5 separate regions of the Homo sapiens genome follow, and all the other regions are linked to region 1. The links are contacts of gene promoters, found by promoter capture Hi-C in blood cells and fetal thymus (Javierre and others, 2016). All regions are on one chromosome and are shown on one strand. The core of a region is centred on a gene start or on the middle of the fragment in contact, and the rest is flanking DNA. Distances in the headings are between cores, read along the strand shown.

Region 1 (3,528 bases), core at 728-3,227:
TAAAAGTTTGACAATCCTCAACAACCTCCTTCAACAAGTAACATTGGTTACAACCACTAAAATTAGTTATTTTATATCTGGTATAAATCCTTATTATGGAAAAGGAATCCTGTGACTTATATTTATGTCTTCTATGGAAAGATTATTTAACAAAGTGTTACAGGTAGTATAGATCATGAATAGGTAGAAAAAGAATTTCTGTTTTCTTAAGATCTTTAAAGGCCAGGCATGGTGGCTCATGCCTGTAATTCTAGCACTTTGGTAGGCCGAGATGGGTGGATCACTTGAGGCCAGGAGTTTGAGACCACCCTGGGCAACATGGTGAAACCCCCTCTCTACTAAAAATACACAAATTAGCCAGGTGCGGTGGCGTGGGCCTGTGGTCCCAGCTACTAGAAAGCCTAAGGTGGGAGGACCGTTTGAGACTGAGAAGTCAAGGCTGCAGTGAGCCCGGATCATGCCATTGCACTCCAGCCTGCATGACAAAGTGAGACTCTGTCTCAAAAAAAAAAAAAAAAAAGGATACAGCTAGGGACTAAATTAAGCCTTGCATTTGAATTCAGGAGCCACTCTTCTGGAAGCCAAGGCTTGTTACCCCCCACAACCCTCCCAAATTTTAGTCACTTCTATTGGGCAGGGGCAAGTAAAACCTGACAGACTGTCTTACAGCTTGCCTGGGAACATTTGTTTCCCTATTTACCCTTCAAAGTGAATCATTCCCAAGGTTGACTTTAATTAATTCTGATGTAATTCACTTCCTTTCACTTAATAATTATTAAAAATTTCAGGGCAGGGTGCAGTGGCTCACGCCTGTAATCGCAGCACTTTGGGGGCCCAGACAGGATGATTGCTTGAGCCCAGGAGTTTGAGACCAGCCTGGGCAACACAGTGAGACCCCATCTCTACAGAAAATTTAAAAATTAGCCAGGCGTGGTGGCGTGTGCCTCCCAACTACTTGGGGTGCTGAGATGGGAAGATTGCTTGAGTCCAGGGCTCAAGCCCCTCACTTGAGTCAAGGCTGCGGTGAGTTATGATCACGCCACTGCACTCCAGCCTGGAGGACAGTATGAGACCCTATTAAAAAGAAAAATAAAACAAAGAAACAGGACGAGAAAATACATATATGTTTCTTAAGGTAGTTATTGAAAGATTTTTTTAAAAAATTGAGACAGGGTCTTACTTTGTCACCAAGGCTGGAGTGCAGTGGCACAATCTGGGCTCACTGCAGCCTCGACTTTCCAGGCTCAAACCATCCTCCTGCCTTAGCCCTCCAAGTAGCTGGGATCACAGGCATGCACCACCACACCCAGCTAATTTTTGTATTTTTTGTAGAGTTAGGGTTTCGCCATGTTGCCCAGGCTGGTCTGGAACTCTTGGGCTCAAGCGATCTGCCCGCCTCAGCCTCCCAAAGTGCTGGAATTACAGGCATGATAAACTGCACCCAGCCCCATAATCTTTATAGCACTCCTTTACCAAAGAAGAATTACACTGAAAATTTAGATTTATAGGGATTATACTGTTAACATATAGCTGGCAGTCCTGAGCTGGAAGCTGTCTTGTCATTCAGGAAATTTCCTGGAGAAATAACCTTCCTGATTCCATATTCCTGGGGGCAACACAATTGAAGATGGAGGGCCAGAAGAAATACTCAAGTCAGAAAGCTGCACAGCATTCAGACAAAATCTGGTTGGAGAGGAAAGCTGTTTTCATAATTTAGCGAGCTTCCCCAGCTAGCCTGTAGGTGGGTGTGTTTAACAGAAGAAAGCAATGGGAACCCGCCTGTCAGCCAGCCTTTCGAGCTAATTAGCTCAGCATACAACAAAGATAAGTGAGCCTGGGAAGAGGGCCCCCTGAGGGGTCTTTAGATTCTGGGAAATGTCTGATTGGCAGATGTTAAAAGGGATTCCTTGGTAATCCAGTGCATCAATGAGCTGCAGAAATTCAGCCCAGGACTGCAAGAATTCAGGCATGAGGACACTCTGTACAGGAGGCTCACACAGGCAGACCCAAGATGGACAGAACCTTGGAATCTCTGAGACACATCATTGCCCAAGTCTTGCCTCACAGAGATCCGGCTCTAGTCTTCAAAGACTGTAAGTACTGAAGGGGGAAAAGTTTTTTGACTTTTTAGAAAATAGTCCTAAACGTCAAGTCACATCCTATTTAAGTAAGATTTCTCCTAAATCTCTGCAGTCGTATGCTGTGTTCTAAGTGATATTTTAACTTGTTCCTGACTTCAGCCAGAAGAACGATTTCATTTCACCTACAGGCATTAGGCACTGGGTTATTCTGTCAGTGATACATCTTGCTAACTACTTAGAAGTCTCTTCTACAATCCAAGACCTGCCTAAGACTTAATGAACTTTTTCTGATGCTTTTTAAGTAAAGCAAAGCTGACTGGTGTTGAGATTAAACCTAAAAATAATTTGGAAATGATACTAGAATATATCAATATTTGTTAACCTGTTTAATACTCCACAACACATATTAGCTATGTTAATTCAAGTATCGTGTTTGTCTGAAAATATTTGTTGCAAACCAGAATTAACAGTAAATCACCACTGAACTTTTAAATTTTGATAACAGATTATAATGCTTTAGTTAAAAGGCCAATAAAATGAGATGCCTCCTAACCTCAGCAACACTCCCTGTGTGGACCCCCTACCACCATCACCAATTTATACAGCATGGCAAAGTTATTTCAAAATCTTTTTTTTAATGATTTAAAAATAATTCAATCAAGATTTCCAATTCTAGCAATACTATTAAACCATTTGTCATATAACTTCGTTTCTGGAACCAATTTGATTTCCTGCTGCTGCAAAACAGACTATCTTCATGTTGTATCTTATCTACAGTGGGTTTCATATTACAAAGGGCTTCTGAAATAGAACTGCCCAAAAGGTAAAATGCATATGGAATTTTTTTTAACTTCAATAGGTTGCAGCTTTCCTCTTTGTGAATCTAGTTGTGTTTGTCTCCATCAAAACATCAATGGTTTGAATTTTTGCTTTCTGATTGCTGAATAACGTTCCATTCCAGATGTCCTCTTAGCTTAGATTTCTCATATGTATGTTGAAGAAAGAGGAATGTTAGGCCATTTAATTCTATAAATTTTTCCTCTTAGATGTTAAATTGTAACCAATCTGTCCTTTAAGGCATAAAGTGAAAGCCTTTTCTTTCTCTAGCTCTCTTTTTAAATATTGTCTTTAGGCATTTGCCAATAACTATGTTAGATCTAATAAAAATCACTCTCTCCACTACTCTAGCCTGGAGTCTATTCAGGTTTGTTATGTTTTTTAAGCGAAAAGGGGAGGAAAGAATGTCTCTCTCCTACAATAGAACTGATTCACTAGTGAGGGATAAAAGGGCTCTCGGGCTGCCCAAGCTTTGGATAAATTGTATAGGACCAGGGTTCTTATGCTGAGCATTTAAATAGGGGAAGCAGTTAAAAAAAAAATAGGGGGGACGTTTTTCACTGGCCCATTGAAAACTTAATAAGTTCAAATGTGAAACTGTATAGCTCAT
Region 2 (3,333 bases), core at 211-2,710, 1.7 Mb before region 1:
ATTAGAAATCCAGGTATGTAAGCCTTACTGATTGGGAAAATAAATTAAAAAAAATTTTTTTTAAATTTTTGTTTTAAATAAACCAAATGATAAAAAAGGTTCTTACCTTGTTTTTATTTATAAGTACCTTTATATTAAGGAGATACAGTAATTCTGATACATACCTACATTATTATGTAAAATGTATTCTCTTAAACTGTAGTTCATTTTAGTTTATTATCCTTTTAATCATCCTTTTCTCAGTTTCTAGAAATTGTAGAATGACTGTTAAAATGAACAAATATTCTTTTTTATGTAATTTGGAATAGTAATGCATTCTTTCTGTATCAGAGTCACAAAAGTATAGTCTGAGAAAGGAATAGGTCCCATATTTTTTAGTTTTTGTGACATTTCAGAATCAAGCAACCTTTTTTAATTAATCCTTAGTACTGCTTTTATACACCATTTCTAAATGCTTTAACTGCTTGTATTTGGGAACCGATTTTGTTTTGGCAAGGGTTGAAACGAATTCTTGTTATCTATCAACTAAGTTTTTTTTGCCACATTATTTTTAAGGTCATTAATAAAAGTTGTACTTATCTAACAGATGTGGAAAGATTAAAAGAGAATACAAATCACGATGATAGCAGCAGGGACAGTTATTCCTCTGATAGACACTTAACTCAGTACCATGATCATCATAAAGACCGACATCAGGGAGATTCTTACAAAAAAAGTGATTCCAGGAAAAGACCCTATTCTTCTTTTAGTAATGGTAAAGACCATCGTGATTGGGATCACTACAAGCAAGACAGCAGGTAAACTTGGCAGTCACTTTAGAAATTTTGCTTATGCATGTTTTTCTCCTTATCATGATGTTCCTGTATTTGACCTGTCAGCCAATTCAATCTTCATGCAGTCAAAACAAATCTTGTGAAATAAAGGTGTTGTATATAATTAAGAAAAATGTATATATTTTAAGAACTGAATTTCTCTATAAAATGGATTTTGAATTATAAAATTGAGATCAAAATATGTAGTAAGGTGATGTAGGGAGTTGTATGATTATAAATTGCGTGGGGTTCATTGTTCGTTTTGAAGAATATTGGCTCAAATACTCTTTAAAATATAATAAGTGGGATAAAAGCTTGATATAATAGTGATTCAGGTTTGGTTTAGGAAATTTTGCATTCCATATTTTTAAAAAGTCGGGAAAAATTAATATATGTGAACACATCTCATTGAGGTAAAACTTAACCTCAGCAATCTGGAATATTATTGGAACCAGGAAGGTTTTTTGTTTATTGTTTTTTGAAGCCTTTGAACAGTAAGCAACCTCAGTGTAATAACATCAGAATACTTTTTATTCCTTTATTGATAAAGAAGTATTTTCGGTAGTTAATGATCACTACTAAAAGTAAACTTGAAAACTGAGATTTATAGTATTTATGCTTTTATAGTAAGTAGAAGAAACAAATTAGAAGACATCTTTGTATTTTAGTGTTCATTACAATAATTTCTTTGAGAACCTCTGTCAGCACTATGAACACATCAGTTGTAGAATGGCTGTTATTTGAAGGGGTCAAATAATTAAAAGGAAAAGGCAGATTTATAGTATATATTTCACAGGCTTATGCAATATAGTTACAGTTGTGTGTGTGTCAGTTTGGAAAAGGCACTCATTTTAGAGAATAATTCTCATTAAACTGCCACATTTATTTTTTATCAAGCTGTCACATGTTTGTATGGAGTAAATTTCGTAATGATTCATGTGTCGAGTCTTACTATATAACTAGTCAAACTTGAGGAAGCTTTTAATAGGCATCAGCAACCAGTGAAAAATTTTTCAGCATAGACTGCATTCTAGCATTTTTAAACTTTTTCCTGCTTAGAGGTTGGTAAAAGGCTCTGGTCTCAGGAGTATTTCAGATAGTTGTAATAATCTTAATTTCAGCTTCCAGACAATTAAGATGCAGTCATATAAATGATGTGTAAAATAAAAAGCAGCTAATTATCTAAAATAGCCATGTGAAATTAGATGCTATTTTAGGGGTTTTGTATGGTTCGCTTTAGTTTTATGAATCAAATAGTTTTTCCAAAGAGATATATCCAGTGATTTTTGAGTTAATTAAGTAAGTTTTATAATGCAACACTGAATTTCTATACAATTAAAAACATGTTTTAAGGTATTTTTATGTTTTTTAGTTATCTTTTATTTGGAAACATTTTAATTTGCATGATTTGTCTAAAATTCTCAATTTTTCTTTATTAGATATTACAGTGACAGAGAGAAACACAGAAAACTGGATGATCACAGGAGTAGAGATCACAGGTCAAATTTGGAAGGAAGTTTAAAAGATAGATCTCATTCTGATCATCGTTCTCACTCAGATCATCGGTTACATTCAGACCACCGGTCAAGTTCTGAATATACGCACCATAAATCTTCCAGGGATTATAGGTATCACTCAGACTGGCAAATGGACCACAGAGCTTCCAGCAGTGGCCCTAGGTCACCACTAGATCAGAGATCTCCTTATGGCTCCAGATCTCCATTTGAACATTCAGTTGAACACAAAAGTACACCGGAGCATACCTGGAGTAGTCGGAAAACATAACAAAAACTGATACTTCGTCTTTCTGGACTTTTCTTTTAGCCATATATCATAAACCAACACAGTAATTGCCTTACATGACTTGAAAGATATAAACAGATCTTCTATCAGTAGCAGTATTGTTACTTCTTTCCAGGATGCAAGGTCTATTATCCCAACAGAAGAGAAAATATTTTTATATTTAAGGATTATGCTGCACTGTACTACAAAATTGTAGTACTTTTTTTTGTTTTCTTTTTTAAAGAAATGGAAAATGTTTACTATTACAGGGACCTCAACACTGCCCTCCCATACAGGCTGGATAAAACTGTTTTTAAGTCAGTGATTTTAGACTGACCTCCATTTAAATTATGTTTATATATGAACTTTACTCTGACCTGTGATCATGTTTCAGGAAGGAATGAAAGAGAGTTCTTTCTTAATAAAGAAAAACACTCAAGGACTTTGTTCATTTCCAAAGCTACTTGTTTACATTGTACACTGCGACCACCTTGCCGCTTTTCATCACAAGCTTGAATATTTAAATTCTGTACTTATATCTGTAAAATAGCCAGGAATTTCCTGTTTGTGATCTATTATGCCTTTTTACAAAAAAAATGGCTGTAAATTATTGTAAATATTAAAGGAACTTTCCTTACTTCCTTCCCTTTCTCAGGCTTTTTTTGACTGTTCCTTTCCCTACCAACTCAGGCCTTCTTATTAAAAAAAAAAAAATCAGTGTAATAACACTTTTTAATGA
Region 3 (3,381 bases), core at 550-3,049, 1.9 Mb before region 1:
GATATTAGTTATCATGGGGAGGCAAGAGAGAAGGGTCTCCCTGGGGTGGATGAATGCTGCCCTGATAACTTGGAGAAGGACTCTAGTCTGTGCTTTATCATCTTCTAAACCTGTGATGTTCATAGAAGACCAGCAGCCCATTTCCTTCATGGCAATTATGAGCACTGGAAGCTTTCACCATGATTCTCAAAGCTACAGCATCCATGCACTTTCTGGAAGAGTCCTTCCTCCTACACCCTTGGCTCCACAAGGGGTAATGTGCACCCTCAGTCACCACACCACTGGGAAGCTACCTGGTGGAGATAAGCCACATTTATCTGTTCAACTCCAAAATCCAGTTTTGGTGCTTTCTTCCTCTGAGATAATCCAGTTTACTTTTCTCCTGTCTAACCAGACGCGGAAAGAGAAGTTCTAACTCAGGCCTTTAAAAACAAATTGCTGGCCACTCCTCTCTTGTTTGGGGAAAGGAGATGCTTTACTCTTCCCTTTTCAATTCACAGTGGGGAAAAAAACACCACTTTAGATTTTATTTTCTTAATAACATTTAGTATGCTACTTAAGAGGGAAAGTTCTGCAAATCCTGCTATTTAAGAGTAGATTAGAAAGCCAGGTGTGGTGCCTCATGCCTGTAATCCCAGCACTTTGGGAGGCTGAGGAGGGAGGATCATTTGGGCTAGGAGTGAGCAGCCTGGGCAACATAGCAAGACCTCATCTCTACTAAAAAATAAAAGAAATAGTTTTTAAATAAAGGGTGATTAGATCTACTCTAGATTGAACCATATAAGAGATTTGCTCCTAGATTAACCAGGCCAACCTAGAGAATAATTAAATTGCCATAAATGAACCCAACTATTAAAACGTCTCTGAGACTTTTTTCTACACAATTACTTATAGAAATACATCTGGTCTGGATCTGAGTCCCACCATCATAGGGTATTAGCCATGTACTAATCTCTTCCATGCTGACCTGCCATTTAACCCATTTTCTCCATGAATTTGAAATTATCTCTTTGGAGTACAAAGAGAGTTATATTTATTATCCTCAAGCTTTCAGTTGAAGGGAAGGATGGAGGAGGTGAGGGAGGACAGTTAGATTCAGGTTCAATTAAAATTTGAAAGCAGATATGAAAGTTAGACTAAATCATCATTCATACAGATTTACCTTCTTCCCCTACTGACAGACAGCCAAATAAATATGTATCTGAATACGTCTTCCTTTCTTGTAATAAACTTAGCTACAGGGAAATAATTACCATTGCAAAGAATAGAGATATATGAAGCAGTTTTCCTGCTTATATAAGATCTCAGCAATTAATCACAATCAGAAAATTTGCTTATTGTATTTTTCTCTCAATATTTTGTAACTTGTCTAATAAATCTGAAATGTTTAGCAGAGTGTCGTGCCATGCACCTGTAATCCCACCTATCTGGGGGGCTGAGGAGGAAGGATTGCTTGAGACCAGGAGTTCGAATACAGTTTTGACAACATAGCAAGACCCTGTTTCTAAACACTTAATAATAATACTCTGAAATTTTTTAGACAAAAATAAGGTATTTCCAGTCACTAAAAATATATAAAGTACTACATCTAAATGAGATTTAGTTATAAAACTAGTTGACTTTCCAAAGTCCCCTTCCTGTGACTGCTTCAGAGATGAATGCAGAGAGCAGGAATCCTGATTATTTCATGTGGGAGAAGGGTCAAGCCTCTATAAAAGCTCTGTACCTTGCCCTGTCAAGTGTGTGCTTGCCTCCAGAATTCAAACTTTGGAAATATAATTAAGTAATTAGGTTGGATTTGCACTGATAGAGTTTTTGTTTTGTCTTTGTTTTTCTTTATAGAAACAGGGTCTCATTCTGTCATGCAGACTGGAGTGGAGTGGCATGATCATAGCTCACTGCTGCCTGGAACTCCTGGGCTCAAGTGATCCTCTCACCTCAGCCTCCCAAGTAGCTGTGACTACAGGCAGGTGCCACCATGCCTGGCCCCTGACAGAAACTTTAAGAAGGCATTTAGTATTATGATGAGAGGCTTTTGCACTGATTTCATGCAAAATGGCAACAGATAATTTGTACAGAGTACAGTTTTCCAGAAATAAAGTTGTTCTTAAATGAGAATGATGTCATACTAAAGCCATATATCAAGGATAAGTGCCCAACATGTGGTCTGTGAAAAGGAAGCTCATTATAGGTTTTATGTGATGAGTCACCACAGTTACAGTCACTGGACAATGTCTTCAGTGTAAATTTTGAATAGACTTTCCAGTTCATGGAAATTTTTGGCACCTTTTATACATAAAACGTTGCAGATTTCTCCATGACCCAGTTTTTTGTTGTTGTGTTGTTTTGTTTTGTATGGATTCAGCCCAGAACTTCTAGAGAGAGCAGGGCTTCCCTCCACCATTCCATGCTGCTGCTTCCTGTGTTCTTTCTCTGTCTTTTTGACACCATTTGCTTTCTACCTCCCATGTATTCCTCATATCTTACCTGTTTAAAAGTGAAGTTAACGTTTTCATTACCAAAAACAAACAAAACCAAAGATAAAGCTTTCCAGTTACTTCAGTGAGAGCTTGCCAAGAGAGTAAGGGAGTTGCACGAGTTCAGTCCTACTTCTTGAACATTTTCAGTGGCTCTTCATCACCTACCTGTATTTTTTAAAATTAATTTCCTCAGCCTAGTATTCAAAGTTCTTTATGCCCCACCCTAGTAGCTCACTCTAAACTTAATCCTATTACTCTCAAATCATTGCTATATAAGAAGTTTCTGGCCAGGTGCAGTGGTTCATGCCTATAATCCCAGCACTTTGGGAAGCCAAGGCACGCTGTTCACTTCAGGCCAGGAGTTTTGAGACCAGCCTGGCCAAGATAATAAAATCCCATCTCTAAAAAAAAAAAAAAGTAAAAATAAAATATTATGGGTTCAATTGTATCCTGCAATAAACGTACGTTGAAGTCCTAACCCCTAATACCTCAGAATCTTCCCATGTTTGGAAATAGAGTTTTCACAGAGGTAACCAAGTTAAAATGAGGTCATTAAGGTGGAAATTTGGACACAGAGACAGACACGAACAGAAGGAAGATGATGTAAAGGCAGGGAGAACATCATGTGAAGAAGGAGGATTGAAGTGACGCATCTGCAAGCAAAGGAATGCCACAGATTGCCAGCAAACCCAGAAGCTAGGAAGAGGCAAGGAAGGATTCTTCTGAAGCTTTCGGAGGAAGCATGGCCCGGCCAACACCTTGATTTCTGATTTCTAAACTGTGAGATAATACTTTTCTACTGTTTTAAGCCACCTAGCTCTCCAGTATTTTTTGTTGTTACAGCAAACTTAGGAAACTAATACAACTGCCACATTTTAAGCTTCTGTTGATATTATTTCTT
Region 4 (3,617 bases), core at 338-2,837, 1.7 Mb before region 1:
AAACAAAATTTAGCTTCTATTGTTTTATTTATACTGATATCTAAACATCATCTTGGATGTTAATTTACCTTGTCTTACCTGGTGTATCTTAATGTTTTAACATTTTTGTTTTTAGCATAGTTTATTCATTCTTCTTAGATAACAGTGCCTTGAATTTTTATACTAACAAGTATTTTCTTATATCTGTAAATATCAGAAATACGTATAATTTTAGTGAATACTGAAGCTCACATTTACCAAACAATTATTTTCTCTTAGGTTTATCAAGAGCTATAAGAAATTTGGTGGTCCTCTGGAAAGGTAAATACGTTTATTATTCTCATAGAATAATGGAATGTGTTACATGCTGTCACCTTTATTTATTTGTATTAACATTCAGTTTAGCTACTTTGTTAAATTTGCTTTTAATCGGCATTTACAAAATTAATGTACAAGGGAAATTTCAGATTGTTTTTAAAAATGTTTTTATACTGTGTTTAATTTCCAGTCTCAAATTTCTTTCCTGTAAATTATCTATACATGTTTAAATTGCACTTTTATGACGGTAAGGCACTTTTTACAATCTTTATCTCATTTTTCATCAATAACTTAAAAGTAGCACGAGCAGATTTATCCATAGAGGGGCTGAGTTGCTAACCCAGCCTTTTTTTTTTTTCTTTTTAAATGGAGTCTCTCACTGTCTCCCAGGCTGGAGTGCAGTGGCGCGATCTTGGCTCACTGTAACCTCCACCTCATGGGTTCATGTGATCCTCCTGCTTCAGCCTCTCGAGCAGCTGGGACTACAGGCGCATGCCACCACACCCAGCTAATTTTTTTTTTTTTTTTTTTTTTTTTAGTAGAGACGGGGTTTCACCATATTGGCCAGGTTGGTCTAGAACTCCTGAATTCAGGTGATCCGCCTGCCTCAGCCTCCCAAAGGCTAACCCAGCCTTTTAACCAGCTCTGCTTTCCCTAAGTAGAGATATTTTCTTAAGTTTCTCAAATTCATTCTCTTATTATACAAACTGTATTAAAATTCAAATTAAGATAGTTTTTTTGAAGTTATCAGATAATCTCAGTAATTATTGTGATTTGGATATTCTTTGCCCTTTGTTGTGGCCAACCCACTGTCTGAATATAGATCAGCAAAGACTCAAATTAGTTTATTTTTTTACTCTTAAAAAATCCCTTCAAAAATAGATATATTTTGTTTTATTTTGAGATGGCATACTTAAAATATAATGAAATACTTGCATAATTATTTTAGATGAAAAAATGTCTTGAGTATTAATCATTCATATCTATTTGGTGCACAGTAATAAAAAGTTACAGAACTTTACTCAGCTTTTGTGTTTACAATTATAAAGCTTTACCACTTCATTCTGAACATCTTAAAATTTGATCAGTTATTAAAAGGTTTTACAGAATTGGTATATAATCTTCCATTTGCTCTATAATGAATTAAACTCATTATTATTGAATATATAAATGAATTGTTTGTCTACCACATTGTCCTGGTTTTTATGTGTTTCCTGCCATTTATGTGAACAAGAATATATAGAGCATGCAGTAGAGTGATATTCAGATCTTGAAATAGAGTGAAACTTAATCTTAAATGGCACCACTTCATTTAACATATTTACCTGAAAATTGGATTATTTTGTTACAGATTAGATGCAATTGCTCGAGATGCTGAGTTAGTTGATAAGTCAGAAACAGACCTTAGACGACTGGGAGAATTGGTACATAATGGTTGCATTAAAGCATTAAAGGATAGTTCTTCAGGAACAGAACGAACAGGTAACATTAAACTGAGAGTGATTTAAAAGAGAAGTAAATGAAAGCTTCAAAATATGCTTTATTGAGCTAGATATTATATCTTAAATTATTTATTCATCAGTCTCAAAAGGTTATTTATAAAACAAAGTAAAGCTATTCTGGGTAATAGGAAATGGAGAACAGAATTGCAATTCGAAGGCAGTAGAATCTGTTTTTAATTCCCCTGACATTTTCTGTCTGGGAGGTAAGGTCAGAAATTACTGTTTTATACACACACATATGTACATTCATAGATATATGTGTATATATACACACACACAGTACAATATGTATAGTATCTATAGGTTTTTTAGTATAGATGACTGGGAAAATATAATGCAAATATACACATATGATATTGGTTTGGGACATAATTATTTTATTATTATGCTTATTTTGCTGTTCATTTACCTGAATAAAAATTATTTAGATAAAATTTAATAAGCAGACCAGGCATAGTGGCTCACACCTGTAATCCTAGCACTTTTGGAGGCTGAGATGGGAGTTTAGCTTGAACCCAGGAGTTTGAGACCAGCCTGGGCAACATTGTGAGACCCTGTCTCTAAGAAAAATGAAAACATAAAAATTAGCAGGGTGTGATTGTGCGTGCTTGTAGTCTCAGTTACTTGTGAATTGAGGTGGGAGGGTTGCTTGAGCCCAGGAGGTCAAGACTGCAGTGAGCAATGATTGCACCACTGCACTTCCAGCCTGGGCGACAGAGTGAACCCTGAGTCATCATCCTATAATTCTTTATTTAGAGGCTGACGGTATTAGTAGATTGATCCATCTTATGTAATTGGTAAAACACTTAGAGAAATACTTTTCGTGAATTTGCATCTGCAAGATTATTATCACTTGTTCATATGTAATGAAGTTCAAGGTTTTCCAGTAATCTCTTAATAATATAAATAAGGAATACTTATTGTTAAATAACATAAGTAATAGCATCAGTTGCTTGGTGTTTTGTAGAATTATGTTTTATACTTTTAAAAATACTGGTTTTTTTAAAAAAAATCAAGGTGGTAGACTCGGAAAAGTGAAGGGTCCAACATTCCGAATATCAGGAGTACAGGTGAATGCCAAACTAGTCATCTCCCATGAAGAAGAATTAATACCTTTGCACAAATCCATTCCTTCTGATCCAGAAGAAAGAAAGCAGTGAGTGATTTATTTTCTCCATTGTAAGATTTTTGTTATTCAATAATTGCAAAATGAATGTGCTGAATTTTTATGGTGTTATTGGCTAGTTTTGAAAAAAAAAAGGAAGAAATAAAGCATATTATTTTGAAGTTCTAATGACTCACGTTTTTCAAAATTAATTTTTCAGTTAAGGCAATTACAAACTTATCATTAGTTATTAACTTTGATGCCAGGTATACTATCCCATGCCACACAAAGGCAGCTCATTTTGATATAGACTGGGGCAAAGAAGATGATTCCAATTTGTTAATTGGCATCTATGAATATGGATATGGAAGCTGGGAAATGATTAAAATGGATCCTGACCTCAGTCTAACACACAAGGTATTTATCTATTTCTGATTCTGTTAACCATTCATGTTGAATTTAATTTATTCTAATTCTTGCTTTTAAATTATGTTGGAAATAATGGAAATCTGGAAACCAAGGCACTAGCTGGTTGTGTGACCTTGGTGCGTTTAGAAGATGCTTTGCATGAAAGGATCAAATTTAAATGATTTCTGAGATTTTGCGTTACTGTGAAATTATATGTTATTAAGGCATTAGGTGTATTATTTTTCAAATTACGAGGTTAAAAGTCTTATTCCATCATTAGCTTTAAAAAAATTTTTGATGCATAA
Region 5 (3,522 bases), core at 183-2,682, 1.5 Mb after region 1:
CGCCCTCGTCCAGCGGTTCCCGCCGAGCATGGTGATAATGAGGGTGGGGCCAGCGTTGGCGGTAGAGCGCCTGGTGGCCCCGGGGCCCCTCCTCGTCCTCCGCGCCTCCCTGCGGCGCGCAGCACAGAGAGCCCAGCCGCTTCCGCAGCTGTCGCCGGAGCCGGCAGTCGCCCGCCTGGAAGAAGAGGTAGACGAAGGGATTGAGAGCGCTGTTGGCCATCGCCACCACGCGCAGCGCCGCCGACAGGCCCTCTCCCTCCCAGTCTCCCGCGGGCCCGGACGACCACGCGGCCGCCAGCCGGGCGGCAAAGTAGGGCAGCTCGCAGCCCACGAACAGCAGCGCCAGCAGCAGGCTCATCTTCAGGCTCTGCACCTTGGCGCGGGGCAGCGCGCTGGGCGCAGGGGCTCGACCTGGGCTCGCCGACCAGGGCGCTGCAGCCGCGGGGGCCTGCGGCCGGTGCCGCCACCAGACGGAGAGTAGGTGGCCGCAAGCGACGCCCAGGACCGTAACAGGCGCGACGAAGCCCGCGACGGCCTCGTAGAACGCGTAGACCTGCAGGTGCCAGCGCGGCAGGGGCGCGAAGATCCCGTGGCAGCGACGCTCCCCCGGCCAGGCGCGGGCGGCCGGGGGCGCGCCTGGCTGCAGGGACGTTGGCGGCGGCGGCGGCGGCAGCGGCGAGGGGGAGTCCCCGCGCACCACGAAGGCCGGGGGCAGCGCCAGCAGCAGTGCCAGCAGCCAGCCCAGGGCGGCGAGGGCACGCGCGGGCAGCGGCCGGCCGTGCGGAAGACGCACCGCGCGCCGGCGCTCGAGGGCGATGAGCACCACGAGGTGGGCCGAGGCGCCCCGCCCGGATGCCTGCAGCAGCTGCAGGAAGCGGCACGCCAGGTCCCCCGTGGCCGCGCGGGGCTCGCCCAGCAGTTCCCAGGCCAGCTGTGACAGCGCCGTGCCCCCGCACGCGTACAGGTCCGCCAGGGCCAGCTGCACCAGCAGGAAGTCCATCTTGCGACGCTTGGGGCCCGCCCAGGGCCCGCCGCCGCCGCACAGGCGGCACAGCACTGTGGTGTTGCCTGCCACCGCCACCACCAGGATGACCCCCAGGAACACCAGGCGGACGCGGCGGCTGGGCGGCCCAGAGGCAGGGGCTCCTTGCCCCAAGGTCAGGTTGAGACCCCAGCCCAGCAAGATGGGCACGGAAATGTTGGGCGCCGGCGGCAGAATTGAGGGGCTAAAGAGATCCTCCATCCTTGTCCCGGAGGAAGAGGAGGCACCGAAGAGGGCGGGCAGGACGCGGGAAACCAAAGTGGAGGCGAGGCGGCGCGGGGAGCGACGCTGGGTCTATACGAGTTCCCAAAGTTAGTTGAAAAGGCACACGCACAGAGAGGGAGATGGATTCGGGCGGCTTTGCGCTTAGTTGTTTTTGTCGATTGTCCTCGTGATTTGTCACTCAAATGTGGGTTGTACACTCGAGGAACACACATGATTCCTATTCTCCACCTTCCCCGCGTCTTCCCTCCCATTCCCGGCGGGTACTCTTCCAATCTCTGCAGCGGCCCCCGACGCTACCCTCGCGGAAGCCGCGGACCCCTGGGCGCTGAGAACCTCATCCATTCTCTATTTACGTGTAAAGCACAGCAGGACAGAATGTCGCTTTGCTTGGCCATTGTATACGGCCAGTGTTATGCCAGCACCCACACAAGAGAGGACCTCTTGACTGAGATTGTACCACACGCCCCCACCACCCCAATGTGATTGCCAGTAGGAAAAAAATAGAAAAGACATTAGTTTTTATTTTAAAGGTTTGAAATGCCATGGATCTGCACGAGCATGAGAAAAACAGGAACACAAGAAACCTAACAGCGTTTTGAGCAAAGAGGAGACCTATTAGCTGAATTTTGATCAAGATGTGTCTTCTCTGTCCAAGAATGAAAGTATTTTAATTAGAGGGTACTAAAGTCAATGATGTTGCTTTTAGGAGTGGCAGTGTTGCAGATCGTTCCAAATACTAGGAGCAGTGGGTCACAGCTGCTTTCTTGGTGATGTAAAATTCATTTCATTAGTCTGAAGAGGGCATTAATAGGTTTTATGCAAATGGTAGTGCATTTATTGCTTTTCTCCTAATATTTTCATCCAGTGAAGGATGCGTCATCACACTCCTCATTCTCTTGATTCTGTTTTCCAGCAGATGGGAAGTTGCTAGGAGGGGCTACGCCTCCAATAAGCCTAGAGAAAAGGTGACTAAGAAAGTGATAAGGCGGCCAATTTTTTTAAAAAAGAAATCCAAGTCACAGGAAATGGTTTAGATTAAATGTTGCTGCTTTCATTTTAGCCTTGTCTCCTCACAAACACATTTTAGTTTCCCTGTTGGAAGCATCCATTTGTCTTTTTATGCACCCTCCACGTTAATCATGGTGAAAGTAGAATTTCCTGTACTTCCTGGCCTGGGGGCCAGGGAGGTATGAGTGTTGTCTAGGGTTCACATTCCCAATCTGAGGAAACATTTGGAACTTTAAGATTCATGGCCTAGGAAGATTTGGTGGGTTCCATGATAGTCCTGCCAGCTGCTGTAGGAATCCCATTTCCCAAGCTGTTGTCCTTTGGCCAGAAACCTTGGTTATTTTCATCATCATCTCTGTGGTGCCTCGCTCTGGTCTGACAGGTTGTAGTTATCAGTGGGTATGTGTTGAGTTGATGAATTAGTGGATATACGATGCTTTTCAGATACCTTCGAGCATAAATGCCTGCCTTGACTATAAATCCATCACCTAAGAAAAAATTCCTTTTATACTATGCCAGTATTGTCCAGAGGAGCCCAAGGAAGCTCTGTGGAGACATAGGAATAAGTGTTCCTGGTGGGACATTTAAGAAAGCTAGAGTGATAGCCTTGGAAAATCTAAAATCCTGGTTTGATTTTCATACTCTCCCTTTAGAACTTTTTATCCAAGGCCTTTTTCTATGCACACACATCATCCCAGTTTATAATGCACTTCTTCCAGGGAGCCTTCTCTGAGCAATGTTCATCATTCAGTGATTTTCCTAGCCAGTATCATTTCAGTGTTTCTCAAGATAGTCTATCATTTGTCTCAAATTTGTTGAAATGCTCTTATATATTAGCATTTCAAAATGACTATAGTGAAATTTCACAGAACTTTAGTAAGATCTGATAAAACATTGATTTTCAACAAATTCTTTTTTTTTTTTTTTTTTCCCTTTTTGAGACAGGGTCTCACTCTGTTGCCCAGGCTGGAGTGAAGTGGCATGATCATAGCTCACTGCAGCCTCGACTTCCTGGGCTCAGGTGATTCTCTCACCTCAGCCTCCCAACTAGCTGGGACTGTAGGCAGACACCACCACACCCAGCTAAGTTTTGTATTTTTTGTAGAGGCTAAGTTTCGCCATGTTGCCCAGGCTAGTTTTAAACTCCTGGGCTCAAGAATCTGCCCACCTTGGCCTCCCAAAGTGTTGGGATTACAGGCATGAGCCACTGGGCCTGGCCTAAACTAATTCTTATTAAAATTATACAA

The links. Contacts are between HindIII fragments. The CHiCAGO score rates a contact against its expected background, and 5 or more counts as called.
Region 2: a contact is called between a fragment that was not itself captured here and the fragment with the promoter of LIX1 in region 1, in 2 of 17 cell types (M2 macrophages and total B cells). The highest score is 6.8, in M2 macrophages.
Region 3: a contact is called between a fragment that was not itself captured here and the fragment with the promoter of LIX1 in region 1, in 1 of 17 cell types (M1 macrophages). The highest score is 7.6, in M1 macrophages.
Region 4: a contact is called between a fragment that was not itself captured here and the fragment with the promoter of LIX1 in region 1, in 2 of 17 cell types (total B cells and M1 macrophages). The highest score is 10.2, in total B cells.
Region 5: a contact is called between the fragment with the promoter of GPR150 here and the fragment with the promoter of LIX1 in region 1, in 1 of 17 cell types (activated CD4 T cells). The highest score is 5.0, in activated CD4 T cells.

What each region holds. Positions count from the first base shown.
Region 1 is chr5:97,141,060-97,144,587 of GRCh38, reverse strand. LIX1 (limb and CNS expressed 1) reads left to right here and starts at 1,977. Exons shown (of 6, transcript NM_153234.5): 1 at 1,977-2,093. The coding sequence starts at 2,012. RefSeq lists an enhancer at 1,961-2,030. The HindIII fragment of the contact is 8,667 bases long and covers 1-3,390 here.
Region 2 is chr5:98,855,644-98,858,976 of GRCh38, reverse strand. CHD1 (chromodomain helicase DNA binding protein 1) reads left to right here. Exons shown (of 36, transcript NM_001270.4): 34 at 1-13; 35 at 587-797; 36 at 2,252-3,333. The coding sequence ends at 2,597. Among named protein-coding and RNA genes, the nearest start is that of CHD1-DT, 71 kb to the left of the region's middle. The HindIII fragment of the contact is 664 bases long and covers 1,129-1,792 here.
Region 3 is chr5:99,019,201-99,022,581 of GRCh38, reverse strand. No RefSeq gene overlaps it. Among named protein-coding and RNA genes, the nearest start is that of CHD1, 92 kb to the right of the region's middle. The HindIII fragment of the contact is 1,499 bases long and covers 1,050-2,548 here.
Region 4 is chr5:98,871,755-98,875,371 of GRCh38, reverse strand. CHD1 (chromodomain helicase DNA binding protein 1) reads left to right here. Exons shown (of 36, transcript NM_001270.4): 25 at 259-300; 26 at 1,649-1,779; 27 at 2,817-2,955; 28 at 3,171-3,321. Among named protein-coding and RNA genes, the nearest start is that of CHD1-DT, 55 kb to the left of the region's middle. The HindIII fragment of the contact is 477 bases long and covers 1,349-1,825 here.
Region 5 is chr5:95,617,997-95,621,518 of GRCh38, reverse strand. GPR150 (G protein-coupled receptor 150) reads right to left here and starts at 1,432. Exons shown (of 1, transcript NM_199243.3): 1 at 1-1,432. The coding sequence starts at 1,243. RefSeq lists enhancers at 1-64, 1,261-1,876 and silencers at 82-531, 240-534, 552-601, 692-1,091. The HindIII fragment of the contact is 5,492 bases long and covers 1-3,522 here.